Regions from separate parts of the Homo sapiens genome. Here all the other regions are linked to region 3. The links are contacts of gene promoters, found by promoter capture Hi-C in blood cells and fetal thymus (Javierre and others, 2016). All regions are on one chromosome and are shown on one strand. The core of a region is centred on a gene start or on the middle of the fragment in contact, and the rest is flanking DNA. Distances in the headings are between cores, read along the strand shown. Region 1 has its middle 21 kb from the start of LINC00207. Region 2 holds the start of LINC00207 (long intergenic non-protein coding RNA 207). Region 3 holds the start of SAMM50 (SAMM50 sorting and assembly machinery component). Region 4 has its middle 3.2 kb from the start of RTL6.

The links. Contacts are between HindIII fragments. The CHiCAGO score rates a contact against its expected background, and 5 or more counts as called.
Region 1: a contact is called between a fragment that was not itself captured here and the fragment with the promoter of SAMM50 in region 3, in 1 of 17 cell types (endothelial precursors). The highest score is 5.5, in endothelial precursors.
Region 2: a contact is called between the fragment with the promoter of LINC00207 here and the fragment with the promoter of SAMM50 in region 3, in 2 of 17 cell types (endothelial precursors and monocytes). The highest score is 6.6, in endothelial precursors.
Region 4: a fragment that was not itself captured here is called in contact with the fragment with the promoter of SAMM50 in region 3 in 5 of 17 cell types (total B cells, naive B cells, naive CD4 T cells and 2 more); the score reaches 8.5 in total B cells.

What each region holds. Positions count from the first base shown.
Region 1 is chr22:44,588,937-44,592,504 of GRCh38, reverse strand. No RefSeq gene overlaps it. Among named protein-coding and RNA genes, the nearest start is that of LINC00207, 21 kb to the right of the region's middle. RefSeq lists an enhancer at 1-78. The HindIII fragment of the contact is 3,971 bases long and covers 1-3,568 here.
Region 2 is chr22:44,567,901-44,571,907 of GRCh38, reverse strand. LINC00207 (long intergenic non-protein coding RNA 207) reads right to left here and starts at 2,568. Exons shown (of 4, transcript NR_028411.1): 1 at 2,467-2,568; 2 at 1,320-1,408; 3 at 416-532. It also overlaps the pseudogene KRT18P23. The HindIII fragment of the contact is 7,812 bases long and covers 1-4,007 here.
Region 3 is chr22:43,953,871-43,957,690 of GRCh38, reverse strand. It overlaps SAMM50 (SAMM50 sorting and assembly machinery component), which reads right to left and starts at 2,249. Exons shown (of 15, transcript NM_015380.5): 1 at 2,093-2,249. The coding sequence starts at 2,113. It also overlaps the pseudogene RPL35AP36. RefSeq lists enhancers at 1,505-1,714, 1,520-2,271, 2,395-2,474, 2,555-2,604, 2,272-3,024 and a silencer at 2,157-2,431. The HindIII fragment of the contact is 6,277 bases long and covers 1-3,098 here.
Region 4 is chr22:44,499,379-44,503,421 of GRCh38, reverse strand. No RefSeq gene overlaps it. Among named protein-coding and RNA genes, the nearest start is that of RTL6, 3.2 kb to the right of the region's middle. The HindIII fragment of the contact is 596 bases long and covers 2,307-2,902 here.

The DNA of each region.
Region 1 (3,568 bases), core at 436-2,935, 640 kb before region 3:
GGGTAGGTCAAGTGAGTCCTAAATATACCATTACAACTCCCAGAACCTCAGTATAAAAAAACCGCCCCTGCCATGCCTCTGCATGAAAAGTTCTTCTAAAAGAGTGCATTTGAGTGAGAAGTTGCCCCAAATCATATCCAAGTGCCTGCTACTAACGTCAAGATTCCCCACATCAATGGAGACCTGAGAGCTACTGATCTCTGCTTCTCTGCACGTGGCTGTCTCTGGGAGCAGCCCCAGTGCCTGAAGAAAACAGAGCCCCGCTCTGGGTTGTCCTCTGTGTCCTCCCCACACGGCTGGGAGACACATGCTCTTCTCTCCCCAATTTAGAGAACTGAAAATTAGCCTCTAGCTGCAGTGGGCAGGTCCACTGTGCCTTCAGGGTCAGCGTCTGCGAGGGCCAAGCCCTCTCCCAGTGGTCACAGGTCACAGGGCAGCCTGGTTGTGTCCCCACGCCCTGCATTGGTGGAGTTGGGAGTGGGGGCGCTGACGGTGTGTGCTTGTGGAGCCTGTGTCTCCCCATGTGCTGGCTGCTGCCTGCTGCTTTGTTTCTGCCCCTGTATCAGCGTCTCCATCCCATCTGCACACCCAGATGCAGTGAGCAGGGCCTCCTGGTGCCAGGGGGAGGCCGTAACAGCAGGATGGAAAAGGAGGGGCACCCCCACTCCCCTTTACCTGCCTTGAAATTTTTAGCTCTGAAGTTGCCTGCAAATACGGCCTCAAAGAGCCGCAGCCACAGTTTGGAGGTTGGTTGCCTGGAGGGGGTGCTGGGGTCTCAGAGTCTCCGGGCAAGGACAGGGGGCTGAATTGGGGGCCTGCCTGCTGCAGAGTGGGGCAGGGCCTTGCGAGGACTTGGGTCGGCAGCAGTGTGGTCACAGGCAGGACAGCCCGGCAGGGTGCGGAAGGAGGCGTCTTTTACCTCCCAGTTCATGGAGGCGGTTGGGCAGCTGTGGGCAGACAAGGACGCCAGCGCTGCTGAGGGTGAGCAGCTTCAGCCCGGGTATGGGTCCTCACTTGTCCTTACCGCAGGCCCGGGAGGGAGTATGACTGTTTAGGTCTCTGCTGCTTCCTCCTTGCATGGCCAGGTGAGGTGGCCTCTTGGGAGACCCCAAGTCGGTGAGGGAATTGGCACTCACAGAGGGAGGCTCCCGCAGTCACAGCCACACCTGGGACCCTTCTGCCACTCCCCAGGCCTAGAAGTCCGGGCTGGGCCCCACTCTAAGTGCTAGTTGACCTTGGGGAGATCTGGCTTCTCCCTGAGCCTCAGTGTCCTCATCTGTGCTATGGGTGTTCTCTTCTCCACCACGTTAGCATGTAGTGAGGTGAGATGGGCTGGGCGCTGGGGTTGTTGTCCCAGCTCCTCAGCTGGGTCTAATTTGGTGGCCCCGCCTCCTGGTGACTTTCTGACACCTGACTTTCCTGGTCTCCTCTTGCTGGGATGCCAGCGTCGGAGGCGCCTCTCCAGCTCCTCAAATCCAGCCCTGGAGGTTTCTTCTCCCGTCTCCACCTGCCTTGGCCCAAGTGTTGCTTCCAGCCCTTGATTGCACTAAAGCACCCGCTCTCATAGGCCACGGTGTGCCTCAGGCTCTGCAGAAGGTTCTAGATAGGGGGACGTGGTGGTGGGGAGTGGACAATTACCTCCACCAGCCTGGTACGGCATTGCTGATCTTAGAGCTGGTCCAGGAATTCTCACCACCAGGAATTCCTCAGCTCCCAGGGTCTCAGCCCAGGGCCCTGTGTGGTCTCGATTCCCCTCTCTCAAAGCCCCTGTCTCCCACTCAGTGGTCTGAGCTGTTGTCTTCTCTTTGGCCCTCTCGGGAGCCTCTAGGAACAGGCCTCTGGGAAAGCCACACTCTCACCAGCCGTGGGTAAAGGGGGCTGGGGTGTGGGCAAATCCTGGGCAGTCTCCCCAAAGAGGAGCTCTGTGACCAGCTTTCATACAACGGCCCCTTTCCTCCCTCCCGTGGGGCCTCTCGACATGCCTGGTGTCCCACAGGGTGCCAGCCGCCTTGCCCGCAGCCCCTCAGCCCTGGGCCAGTGCCGCCCCTGTCCTCGCTCACAGGGTGGCCTTGGCAGCCCGGCCCCAAGGTCTACCCGGTGGTCCTTTTACCACCCAGAATACACTCAGGTCCTGGCCTGGAAGCTCTCTCGGCCCTGGAGCCATGACACTTTAAATCCATCCCGAGAGGCTGGCTGCCCTCATGAGGGATGGAGAGACTTAGAGACCAGCCCGGAGCTTGAATTTGACCTCCCTTACTTGCCGTATAGCCTCAGACAAGTTGGCCAGTCTGATGTGAGCTTTGCCATTTGCCAAGTGGGGCTGTAGCCCTTGCATTGTGAGGTTGGCTAACTGTGCAAGATGGAGCAGACCCTTGGTGCCAGTGCTTGCATGGCTGGAGGGCCCAGAAGGTCTGGCCTGAGGTCTGTCCGACCTCTCTGCTAACTCGAGGGTCTCCTCTGGGACTGTATCAAGCGTTGGCGGATGCCACAAGTGGTCTGTGGCTGGTGGTCAGCGTGGCAGGCTTGGTCCAGCAGGTGGACTTGGGTGTCTATCATGGGGACTTTGTGCTGAGGTGGCAGTGGCCTCTCAAGCTATTACTGTTGATTTCATTTCATGAAAAAAATGTTTAATGAAAAGAAATATGAAAACTTCAAAGGACTAACAAGGATGCAGGTTTCCACCTCACAAAATTAATTACATGAACACTTTGGCATATTTGCTTCTAATTTTCTTTTTCCCTCCCTCCTTCCCTCCTTTTCTGCCTCCTCCTCTCTCCTCCTTCTGATTAGGAAAAAAAAACACTCTATGGCTTTTTATAAAATGATCCATGCTCATTGTATCAGTCAGAAGGATGTAGGTTGTGTTGCAGTAACAAACAGCCCCACATATCGGTAACTTTAAAGCCTCTCCTCTGAAGTGACAGCTCTCATTTTCTCACATCTCATTTCTACATGCATAGGCCAAAGAAAGCCACATGGCCACGCCTGGCATCAAGGGGACCAGGAGGTGCGTGACCCCATCATGTGCCCCGGGAAGAGATCTGGACACTCAAGTGACCACCACACTCGGCAAACAGGACACAAATAAGGGAGGAAAAAAACAATATTGAGGGTGCAGAAAGTACGCACATCCTGCTCTCCAGAAGTAACAATCTCTGATAGCATTTGAACATCACTCTGGACAAATGAAGGGAGAGAGGGAGACTTTTTTGAAGATGTTATTTCACTATAAAAGATGACTAATGGGCCGGGCACTGTGGCTTATGCCTGTAATCCCAGCACTTTGGGAGGCTGAGGCAGGCGGATCACTGATCAGGAGTTTGAGACCAGTCTGGCCAACATGGCAAAACCCAGTCTCCACTAAAAATGCAAAAATTAGCCAGGTGTGGTGGCGGGTGCCCGTAGTCCCAGCTACTTGGGAGGCTGAGGCAGGAGAATCGCTTGAACCTGGGAGGTGGAGGTTGCAGTGAGCTGAGATCGTGCCACTGCACTCCAGCCTGGGCAACAGAGTGAGACTCCATCTCAAAAAAAAAAAAAAAAAGATGATTAATGAACATATTCTATTTAA
Region 2 (4,007 bases), core at 1,319-3,818, 610 kb before region 3:
TGCAGATAAGTTCGGGCCTCGTTATTTCTCTCTAGGCTTATGGCGGAAAGCTAGGCATGGTGCTGCTGGCCATGGGGCAGGGTCCGAGCACCCTCCTTTAGCTGGCCTGTCCAGCCTCGCCTCTGATGCTGTCTCTGCTGTGCTATGGTGTAAGGAAGAAGCCAGAAGGCAGGCGATGTGGGTTCCAGCCCTAGTTCTGCCTGTTACTGGCTGTGTGGCTGTGGGCATGTTATGGTCCTCTCTGGCCTTGAGGTTGTCATTTGCCACCCTCTACACCAGCTGCCACTGGGGCATGGGGGAGGAGACAGAAGATGTTGGTGGGAGGCAGACCATGAGGCTCAAAAACATCAAGGGCACAGAGAGGTCAGTGGGGGCTGAACACATTAGCCAGGACTCCCAGCAGCAGGAAACTCACCAGTCCAGCCTGCTCTGCTGACAGGACGTCCCTCCAGATGTCCAGAGGAAGTTCCAGAGGAAGTCTGCCAGCTTCATCTCCCGAGCCTCCATTTCCTCATCCGTAAAGTGGGTAGGGCTGTGGCAAAAGTTCCATGGCATGAGGTGCGAAGAGTGCTCACCTAGGCCGGCACATCATGGGCTCTCTGGGGACATGGACCATTTTCTCCTCCTCCCGAGGCAGGCCAAGCTCCAGGAAGCAGAAGACCTTCCAATGTGGGAGGAGAGGGTACTCAAGGGGTAGCCCAGTAGGGCTGAAGGTCTTCCCCGGTGCCCTGTGCAAACATGGGGGCAGGTGGGTGGTGCATGGCAGACCTGGTGTTCCTGGACATGGAGGCAGCCCATGGCCACAGCTGTGCTGAGACTCAGGCCACTCAGTTCATCCCTCTGCATCCCTCTCCCCCTCCTCCCTAAAGCCCTGCAAACCTGCCTTCGTGGCCCTTTTCTTCCCTGATGAGGCTTTGGAATGAGCTGCTTTTTTTAGCCTCTCCAATCAGGCCGGCATCGTGCTTGGCTATTGTTAGCATCTCAGCTCGACGCCTCCTTCAGAAAGTGATGAGATCATCCTCCCAGAGGTCCACGGTCACCTTTCCACAAGGCTCAGCAACGTGCAGACCTCTCCTCCCATCCCCTACCCTGGTCCCAGGACAGGGACAGTGACAGCACTGAGAAGAGGAGTCAGGGACTGAACTAGGAGCAGGAAGGGAACTGGGAGTGAATGATCAAGGAGAATCTACTGTGGGCTCCGGACAGCGTCCTCTCTGCCCGCCAGCAACCCTTCCTTGCCTCTGGGGCCAGCACTTTGTTTTTCCCTCAAGGAGCCAGCTCACCTTCTGTGTCATGCTGTACTGACCCCCACGCCTTACCAGCCCATCATGCACGGTGTTCCCCTCTGGTTCAGTGATTGGATCCCAAGCAGGATGTGTAACCATCCATTCTCCTCTTTAAACAGAACCTGTTTTGTTGGAGTGAAAGTTTGCCCCCTTAAAAATAGGTGTTACCAGGTTCCCTTGCAGCTAGGAGTGGCCATGGACATAAGAGGAAGTCTGCCAGTTTAATTTCCCATAAAAGGGGATGGTCTCAGGGGCACACACCCTTCTTCCTGCCTGGAATGTGGATCTGATGCCCAGAGCAGGAGCAGCCACATTGCAACCATGAGGATAAAAGGTGCAAAGACTGGACTTTCTGACAAAGATGGTGGCACAGATGCACACATGTACATTTGCCTCTTCTTGAACCCTCACTAAAATGATGGTAAAGATCACTTTACGGACATTACCCTCAAGCAGAAAGAGAAAAGGGGAGGAGGCCCAAGCACCAACATTTTGGAGACTGGAAACCTGGTGGATGAGCCGTAACCCACTAGGTGAGCTTGAGAAGCTGAAACATGGCCGGCCAGCAGCATGCAAAGATGAGAAGCAACAATGGGCTGGGAGGATGGAGATGCCAGATATTTCTGGAGGGGAGTGAAGGAGGATTGTTTCAAACAACAGCAGTTAGTCTTCCTCTCACGGGAGGGACAGAGACAGAGACAGCTATCCACTCCCACTGCTTACACAACTGGGAGATTGCCCCTCCCTGAGCCTGGCAGAAACCCCAAGATTTATTATCAAGAAAGGGTCTGGCAGAGGCCTCTGGACTGGGGGATGCCACTCCAAAAGCAGGGCATGTACTGAGTATTGGAGACCCCCGCCTCTTTCTCCTTGCAGCCCCCGGAAAACCGGCAGCCAGGCCTCACGTGCAGCAGGGGGGAGCTGGGGGATCATTTTGGTTGGGGTCAGTTCCACTGACCTTCCTAGTGGAAATCCTCACACTCTGACCCCCAGTGACCCCCCGGGGAAGCAATCCGCCAGATCACCTGCAGTGGAGACCGCAGTCAGAAAACGCTACCCAAGGGCTCAGCACTTCCAATCAGCTTCTTTGTTTTTTAAATGAAGTAGACATTTAAATGACGTTTATATTCAGTGAAGTGCACAGATCTTAGCACAGTTTGATGAATTTTGGCAAACTTACTCCCATGTCACACGCCTCCCTCAAGGTAGAGGACATTTCTGCCAGCTGGAAAATCTCTCACCAGGTCACCCTCCCATCTGATCCCCGTCTCCATCGCCTGTCCTCCCCATCCCCTGCAGGCCGTGCTGTTCCGATTTCTATCAGCATAGAGGAGCCCTGTCTGTTCTAGAAGTTCATATAGATGACATCACACAGCACATACTCTTCTATATCAGGCTTTGTCACCTAGTAGAATGTTTTTGAGAGTCATCCATGTATTGCAGGCCTCAGGGGTTTGCTCCTTTCTGTGGTTAAATGATCTTCCATGGTTTAGAATGGAATATTTATCCACTCTCCTCTTGACGGACATTTGAGTTCTTAATAGTTCTTGGCTATCACAAATAAAAGTGCTATGAACATTCTTGTACAAGTTTTTATGTGGACATGTGCTTGCTTTTTTTTTTAATTGAATAAATAACTAGACATAGAATTGTTTGGTCACAGCAATTTTGTTTAACTTTACGGGAAATTGCCATATTGATTTTTAAAGCAATTGTACCATTTCACATTCTTACCAACAATGTATGCATTCTAGTTGCTCCGTATCTTTGTCAACACTTGTTAGGGTCTTTAAATTTTAGCCATTCTGGTGGATATGTAGTGGTATCTTGCTGTGACTAAAATGTGTACTCCCCTCCCCCAATGACTAATGGTGTTGAAGATGATTTTTATGTACTTATTTGCCATTTATGTATCTTTTTTGGTGAAGTGTTTGTTTAAATCTTTGTCCCATTTTTGGGAACTTTTAATTTTTTTTTTTTTTTCCAGACAGAGTTTTGCTCTTGTCACCCAGGCTGGAGTGCAATGGCGTGATCTTTGCTCACTGCAACCCCCACCTCCCAGGTTCAAGTGATTCTTCTGCCTCAGCCTCCTGAATAGCTGGGATTACAAGCATGCACCACCACGCCCAGCTAGATTTTTGTATTTTTAGTACAGAGGGGATTTCACTATGTTGGCCAGGCTGGTCTAGAACTCCTGACCTCAGGTGATCCGCCCTCCTCAGGCTCCCAAAGTGCTGGGATTACAGGCGTGAGCCACCCCGCCCAGCCGGATTTTTAAAATTATTGAGTTGTAAGAGTTCTTTTATTTTTTTTAACCTCTGAACTTTTTATTGGCCTCCTGCTCTCTAAAGGGTACCCTGCTTCTGCTGCCTTAATGTCTCAGAACTTTGGTGTCGTTGGTCTCAGACACCACTTTGCCATCCACTCTCTGGTGGGTGGTGGTCTTTGGAATGGTTTGCATGGAGTTGCTGCTGTCCAGGGCATCTCCAAGATTGAAGTCCTTGCCATCTTCCAGCAGGTGGCAGTAGGTGGCGATCTCAGCCTCCAGCTTGACCTTGATGTTCAGCAGGGCCTCATACTCCTGGGCCTGGCACTGTCCCTTTGCCTGGGTCTGTGCCAGCTCTGACCCCAGGTGCAGCAGGATCCCGTTGAGCTGCTCCATCTGCAAGGTGTAGCAGGCCTTCACCTCCCTCACGCTGTTCTCCAAACTGGCTTTCAGAT
Region 3 (3,820 bases), core at 1,000-3,499:
GCACTTTGGGAGGCCGAGGCGGGATGATCACTTGAGGTCAGGAGTTCAAGACCAGCCTGGCCAACATGATGAAACCCCCGTCTCTACTAAAAATACAAAAATTGGCTGGGTGTGGTGGCGTGCGCCTATAATCCCAGCTACATGGGAGGCTGAGGCAGGAGAATCGCTTGAACCTGGGAGGCGGAGGTTGCAGTGAGTGGAGATTGCACCATTGCACTCCAGCCTGGGCAACACAGTGAGACTCCATCTCAAAAGAAATGTAGTTACAATTAACCATTAATCAAGTTGCCTTTTTTTTTTCAAGAGCACAAATCCACATTGATTTATTGACTTTTCATTAGTTTAAATCCTTGAGGGGTACAGCATTACTCGGATTCTGTGTCCAACAGCCTTAGCAGGAAGATTGCTTCAGAATTTGGCACGAATCATGCCATTGTTTCTGTGGGCCCGAGTTACCTTTCCCCAGATTACTCTGGCTTTGTTTGATTTGCCGCCAGGAGTCACTATGTTGTTCTTTGCTTTGTATACATGAGCCCAAATAGAATTCTGTTTCATCTCGGGCATAAACACCTTCAATTTTAAGAAGAGCTGTGTGCTCCCTTTGGTTCCGGAGACTCCACTTATAGCCAGCAAAAATGGCCTTGGACCACAGCCTTCCAGACATATTTCCTTTCAGAAGTCCTGCTCCCGGCAGGCCGCCACAGGAGCCAAGATGGCAGGAAGAGCTCAGGTTGCACTCTGACCTACTTGCTAGTAACCAAAAGTCACAGATACTATTTGCATCCCCATTGATTTTACAGATAGGATTTCTAAAATTAGAATCATAAGGCTTTTGCTTAAGAGTTGCTTTAGATGTTTTTCAGATCTCGAATTCCAGCAAAACTGATGCTGCCAACCAGTTTGAAGACTCCTCCCCGCAACAGAGGAACGGAATCAGCATGAGAAGTTTCCTCATCTCCCTGTCCCATAACTTCACCCTTCACTCTTCCACCAATCAAGGATCTCCACACTTCAGCAAAAACATGAGGTCCAAACTCCTGAAGGAGATGGATTTGAGGTTTCCTCTCTTTTCCCATCTCCTCGTTCAGCGGCCCTGCAACTGAAACTCTTTCTCTGCTGCAACCCACTGTCTGAGTGTATTGACTTATCGAGCACACTGAGCAACAGACCTATTACAGTTACACAAAGAGATGTCAGAAGAGAAACGGTGTTTGATCTGAATGAAAGACATATAAAGGGAAGTTAAGTCCAATTATCGATGTCAGGCTGCGACTTCTGTGCTAAATTTTTTTGGAAGTTAATGGGGAACTACTGAAAACGTCTATGCAGGTCAAGTGAAGCAATCAAAGTTGCAGTAGAAAAGTAGTGTTGGGGCTGAGACTCAGGAAATCTGAGGTTTTAGGCCATTTGGAACCAGTAACTATGTGACCTTGGAGAAGTAACTCATTATCTGGCCCTTATTTAAGATTAGGATAAACGAGAGGAGTTTGGCAACCAGTACAGTTAGTCAGGCGCCAGGCACCCAAGTATTCACATGCATTGTCTTTTAATTCTCTTTTAAGCCAGGCGAGGTAGGTACTATTACTACCTCCACTTTAAAACAGGAAGTAAGGCAGAGAGCGGTTCCGTCTTTTGCACGGTAGACAGGAGAAAAGAGGACCCCTAGATAGGTTTGAGTTAGAAGACTTCAAAGGATTCTTGTTGCTCTAGGAGCCTACAATGGCTCCAGCAGCGGCTGAGCGGGGAAAGGCTGGAAGTGACCAGTAAAGAGAGAAAACTTAAAATCATGCAAAGAAAGAGCACATTCACTGCGGTCTAAGACATCACAGAAAGTTGGCAAGTCCTTTGGGCCACGGACTCGCCGAGTGACCTTTAGCCAAGTCTCGTCCCTCCTATCAGGTTCCTGCTCGAAGGTCTGCAAGACTCGCTGGCCCGAGGCGACCTCTTTTCGGCCTCCTCCACCCAGCCCGGCACCCTTGGCACCCTCTCTCCCGGTGAACCCTGGGCGCAGCCACGAGAGCGTCTCCCCGCGGCGCCCGTCTGCCCTGCTGGCCCAGAGGCCTCGCAGCCCGCGGGTCGCTGGGCCTCTTACCCGGGCGTGCACAGTCCCCATGGTTCCCTCTCCAGCCGCTGCCTCGCAGAGCTGCCCGGGCGGGACAGAGCGTCTGCTGCTGAGGGCAGAAGGCGGGTCCGCGGTGGCGGAGCTGCAGGTCAAGGCAACTCCCACAAACCCCCGGACGCGGAACACTGGGGGCGGCCATGATTCCCCGCCTTCTCCGCGCCCCCTGGCTCGCGATGCCTTCGCTCATTGGTCCTTATGCGCCTGTGACCCGGATGTTCACACGGCCGCGGAGGACGTTCTGACTGCGCAAGCGAAGAGCGTTCACTGACATCCGCGAAGCTGCTGGCGCGTGGACTGTGTGGGGAGGGCGCGTGGGGTGAAGGTGGGTCTGCGAGAGGGTCCGCTGGGAGGCTGGCGTCTGGCGTTGGCGCCTGAAAGAGATCAGACCAGCTGTTGGGTGTCACTCAAGTCCTGCTGCTCTTAGCCCTCCTAGCACCCCCGACCCGAGGGTGCTGTGCTTGTGCCCACGCGCCGGTGAAGCCCCGAGACTCAGCGGGGAGACCCCGGGTCCGGCCACCCCCGAGCTGCAGTAGTCGGGTCTCACCGGCATCTGCTACACAAACCCGGATTGGTGCCCTGGCTCCTTTCGTTCAAGTCATTGGAACCCCCACTCAAAATCGTCAAAATGAAGACGATGGTCGTGTCTCCTTCTTGGGGGTTGGATTAAAAGGGCCTAATGTGAGAGACGGAAAGCAAAGCTCCCGGCACCGGGCCGGGCACACGGTGGGCGCTAGATAATGACCGCTATTCACTCAACTGCAGCCAGTAATTATGGGCGAGGGCCATCTAGGTGCTTGCATGAGAACCAGTCATATCGGTGAAGAAGACGGCCATGGGCTTAGGTTTTGGTGGCAAAACAGCTCCCCTGCCCCAAAAAAGAAAAGAGAATAGAAAAGAAAAAGGCATAATAAATATCAGCCACACATTGTGATAAGTATATTGAAAGAAACGAGACAGAATAAGAAAAGAGGAAGCTTCAGTATCCTGTCACGTTGCCACTCCCTTCTGATAACAGAAGCATCTTTTCTTCTGTCCCCTTACTCCCTCCCAGAAACCCTGACACCCTTTCCATTTAAATAGCAGCACCCTAGGCCTCCAACATCCCTGAGCTAAATATTCAAGTCCACATGTCCCTTCTTGCCTGGAAAGAGACAGAACCCAGCACCAGCCAGGCCCCTGCCCTTCCCTCACTCTCAGTTCCCTGAGCCTCAATTCCTTATCTGTAAAATGGAAATGATAGCCTAAGGCATAAGGTCTGAGGACCTCATGAGATCAAGCATGGGGCCTGGCACTCTGTAAACATCGAATCAACCAGATTTTCTTTGCCCAAACAGCCCTCTTTTCTTACACTTTCTTCCTCGTTATTCTTCTGAGTATGCCACTTGTAAAGGATAAGCCATGAGGTTGCCCTGCAGAGTGCAAGATGGTTGCAATATTTGAGAGCCTATTGTGTGTGAGGCCCTGGAGGATGGCAGAGGGAACAGGAGGAAAACAAAGTCACATGCTTTACCCTCAAACAAAGGGCTGTCTGCGATAGTTACAATGTATATATTAAAGGCTATCTGTGATAGTTACAATGTATATAATATATTAAAGGCTGTCTGTGGTAGTTAACAATGTGTATATTAAAGGCTGTGATAGTTACAATGGGTATACTATATTAAAGGCGGTGGTAGTTACAATGTATATAATATATTA
Region 4 (4,043 bases), core at 1,355-3,854, 550 kb before region 3:
TAGAGTGATCACTGTCTAAGTTTCCTCTCTTGCTAGGCTGCCCCTGCCCCCCACTTTGTTTATTTGTTTGTTTGTTTTTGTCTAGAGAGAGCAGGCTTTTATGGAGGGGGTGCTTTTTTTTTGTCTGCACCCATTGGCATTTCGGGGTTGCCAGCTTCTTCAGCTCCAAGTCTGGGTTATATGATGCAAAAGAAAACTCGAGGAACTCACCACAGTGTTATTCCTTAGGTCCTGAGGTGCCTTCTCTCCACCTACTGCATCTTGTGGTTTTTTTTTTTCAAAGCTGTTTTTCGATACGTTTTCTGCAAAGAATAGGCATGAGTGCATCTACTCCATCTCACTGGAAATGGAAATCAACTACATTTTCTTTTAAAAGGTACTTTTTCACAGGTACCTGATCTTGGTACAATATGGCTTTTTCTCCACAATCTGTTCTTTTCACAAATATTATTCCTTCCTTGTTCTCACTGAGCATCCCAAATATACTTACTTTAAAGTCTGTTTTTTTCAGACTCTTCTATTATTTTAATTTCCTCTGGAGTTAATTCACCTTACAGTTATTGATTTTTCTTGACTATTATTCTTAGCATAAGATGTCTTCATGGGCTTCAGAATTTTGAATCTCAGACTCATTTTGTGTTGAAAGACTTTGTCTCTCTTTCTCTCTTGGTACTCCCTTCCCCCATCTAGCAGTTTGGGGTGGGTCCACTTGATGTCTGGTCTGTGGTAAAGAAATATATATATATACACACACATATATGCATATTATATATACACACACATACACATATACATACATATATACATATATGTGTATAATATATATGTGTATATATATTTTGTTGGTGGTTTGGAATCCTGACCCTCTTGGTCTACTTGTTAAACCAGGGGACAAGAGATTAAGATGACTATATCTGTGTTCTCCTTTGACCCAGGGCCACACTTTCACATAAACTGTCACACCCCACCCCCATGAAATGACTGAATCCAATTTTTCAGACTTTTTTTCTGACACAGGGGTGACTCCTCTCTCCTCCATCCCCTGGATTCAAATAGGAAGCCTGGCTGTGTTCCCAGCCTTGGGTCCCTATTATGTCTCAGGTCCAGAGCCCGGCAGGCCCACGTCAATACTCAGAAGTTTGTGTTTCTGGACCATTGTGAAGTTTATCTTGTTTATCGATTGGAGCCCACTTATATCCTTTCAATATTTTCTTTGCATATTTTATTGTTCTGTGTTCACAGCCCAGACAGGCACCTCAGGGCATGAATCATAGCTTCATCTGGATGAGAAGCCAAATATTCTTCTCCTGTTTTTACTTTTAAAAGTCCATTAATTTTTATTTTGCTCTATTTTATGGGCTGCCATCTAATTTCCCCTTGGAAGTAAAGTGAAATACAGATAAATTATTTATTTCTTTAAATGTTTTATCATTTCTGAAATTGGGGTGCATCTTATATTCAATGCACCTGGGAATTTAAGATTCATGGTGTCAACCACACTTAGAATTGCAGCAGACACTTCACTAATGTGCCCAGTATCCAGGGGCCTAGACAGACAGAGAGACAGAGAGACAGATGGAGTGACTCCCACGAGTGGATGGGATTCCTCTGTGTGTTTAGAAGAACCTGGAGGGGTAGAAGGCTGCAGGCTCATTTCTGCTTTTGAAGTCATTGACCTCAGTCAAGGTTAACACAGCTCCTGCCCCCATCTGATTTAGAAGGTCTCATGGAAGAAGTTTAAGGACACACAGTCTTCTTTATTTCCCTCTTGCTTCATGCTCTAGAAGTTTTCACCTGGTCACAAAGGGTGCACACTTTGGCACACTGGGGTACAAGTATCCTTTCCAAGTTCTGACACTGTAGTTGTGGGACCAGCCCAAACTGGGCCTACCCTGTTGGTAACAAAATGTCAAGCTGCCTTTTAGGTAGAACAGAGCCCAAAACTGCAAGTCATGTAGCCTGGGCATGTGCCGTAGAAAAAACTTTGACCTCCAACAACACCCAGAACCAATGATTCGTCCTCTTAGAACCAAGAAGACTGGGACATGACCAGAAGTTGAAAACCAGAACTCATTCACAAGCAAAGGGGTCCATCAGCCTGGAAGGTCTGGGGCTAAAATCTACTTTAATATACATTACCACATATGGTCAAATTTGAAGCCCTCCAATCAGACCCTGGCAAGCCAGCATTGATAAATACTTTCTCTTGCCACCTGATCCCTTAAAACTTGCCCCATACCTCAAATCAGGGAGACGGATTTGAGCCCACCTCCTCTCTCCTTGCTGGTCAGTTTTGCAATAAAGCTTTTCTTTTCTCAAAAGCTGGTGCCATATGTATCGGCTTCCGTGTGCATCAGGCAGCAAGACCACTTGCTCAGTAACAACATCCTTATGCCCTAATTCCCTTGAGTGAAAACTGCAGGTCTGAGTGAATCCAGCTCTGTCCCAGGCCTGCCTAAAGAGTGCAGATGGTTCCCAGCTTCAGCCTCCTTGAATACTGTGTCCTCAAAAGACTGGCATACTGGGTATTGTTAACTGAAGAATGACGAGGTTCATAAACCTGGAAAGGAGAGTTTTATTTATCATAAAAGGTTGCACCCTGCAGAGTGGCCATTTGAATAGGCTGGGAAGTGTAGCCTCTGGCCAGAAGCCATAAACAGGCACTTCAAGGGTTGGAAGAGTAAGACAGGAATTTATGTTGATCAGGGTGGCCAAATATACATATTCAATAAGCTACAGGAGGAGTTATAAATATTTATGAGAAGAGAAATATGCACATGTGCAACTGAGCTTCATCCCCCTTCATGGGTAGCACCTACAAAAAATGGCAGTGTTAGCGTGATCTGAAGGTGGAGTTTTCAGCCCTCTAATGTCAAAAGGTGTATCAGAGGACACAAAAGCTTTCACTGCACATCCTCCACAGGCTGGCCAGAACCACTCCAGGGTTGGTGGTCTCTTACTAGGAAAGAATGCTGGTCAGTTGTTGTGTGCCACAAAAAGGGAGGGGCAGTGTCAGATGGTTGGTTGGTATCAATGTTGAAGTCTTTCAAAGAGGCTTGTTTCTGTTTAACTCTTAAGGAAAAAAGCCTAATGGTGGTTATCGGTTATGGAGCGGGGGCAGATAATGAAGTGTGTCCAACCTCCCATCCCATCATGGCCAGGAACTCGGCTTCCCAGGTTTCTCTGGGGTCCCCTGGCCAAGAGGGGGTCTGTTCAGTTGGTTGGGGGGGGGGGGCTTAAATTTTTATTTTTATTTCTCAGTATCTTTTCTCTCCAGCCATGCCAGCTTGAAACTGACCATGCAGAAGGATCACCTAGGTCAAGCTGGGAATCCAGACCCGGAATCAAACAGTTCTTACCCTTTGGCCAGTGTATTAGTCTGTTTTCACGCTGCTGATAAAGACATACCTGAGACTGGGCAATTTACAAAAGAAAGAGGTTTATTGGACTTACAGTTCTGTGTGGTGGGGAGGCTCACAATGACGGCAGAAGGTGAAAGGCACGGAGGAGCAAGTCAGGTCTTACATGGATGGCGGCAGGCAAAGAGAGAACTTGTGCAGGGAAACTTCCCTTTTTTTTTTTTTTAATTTTTTTTTGAGATGGACTTTTGCTCTGTTGCCCAGGCTGGAGTACAGTGGTGCAATGTCTGCTCACTGCAAGCTCCGCCTCCTGGGTTCACGCCATTCTCCTGGCTCAGCCTCCCAAGTAGCTGGGACTACAGGCGCCCACCACCACGCCTGGCTAATTTTTTGTATTTTTAGTAGAGACGGGGTTTCACCATGTTAGCCAGGATGGTCTCGATCTCCTGACCTCGTGATCCACCCGCCTTGGCCTCCCAAAGTGCTGGGAGTACAGACGTGAGCCATTGTGCCCGGCCGGAAACTTCCCTTTTTAAAACCATCAGATCTCTTGAGACTCACTCACTATCACAAGAAGAGTGCAGAAAAGACCTGCCCACATAATTCGATCACCTTCCACCAGGTTCCTCCCACGATGTGGGAATTGTGGGAGTTACGACTCAAGATGAGATTTGGGTGGAGACA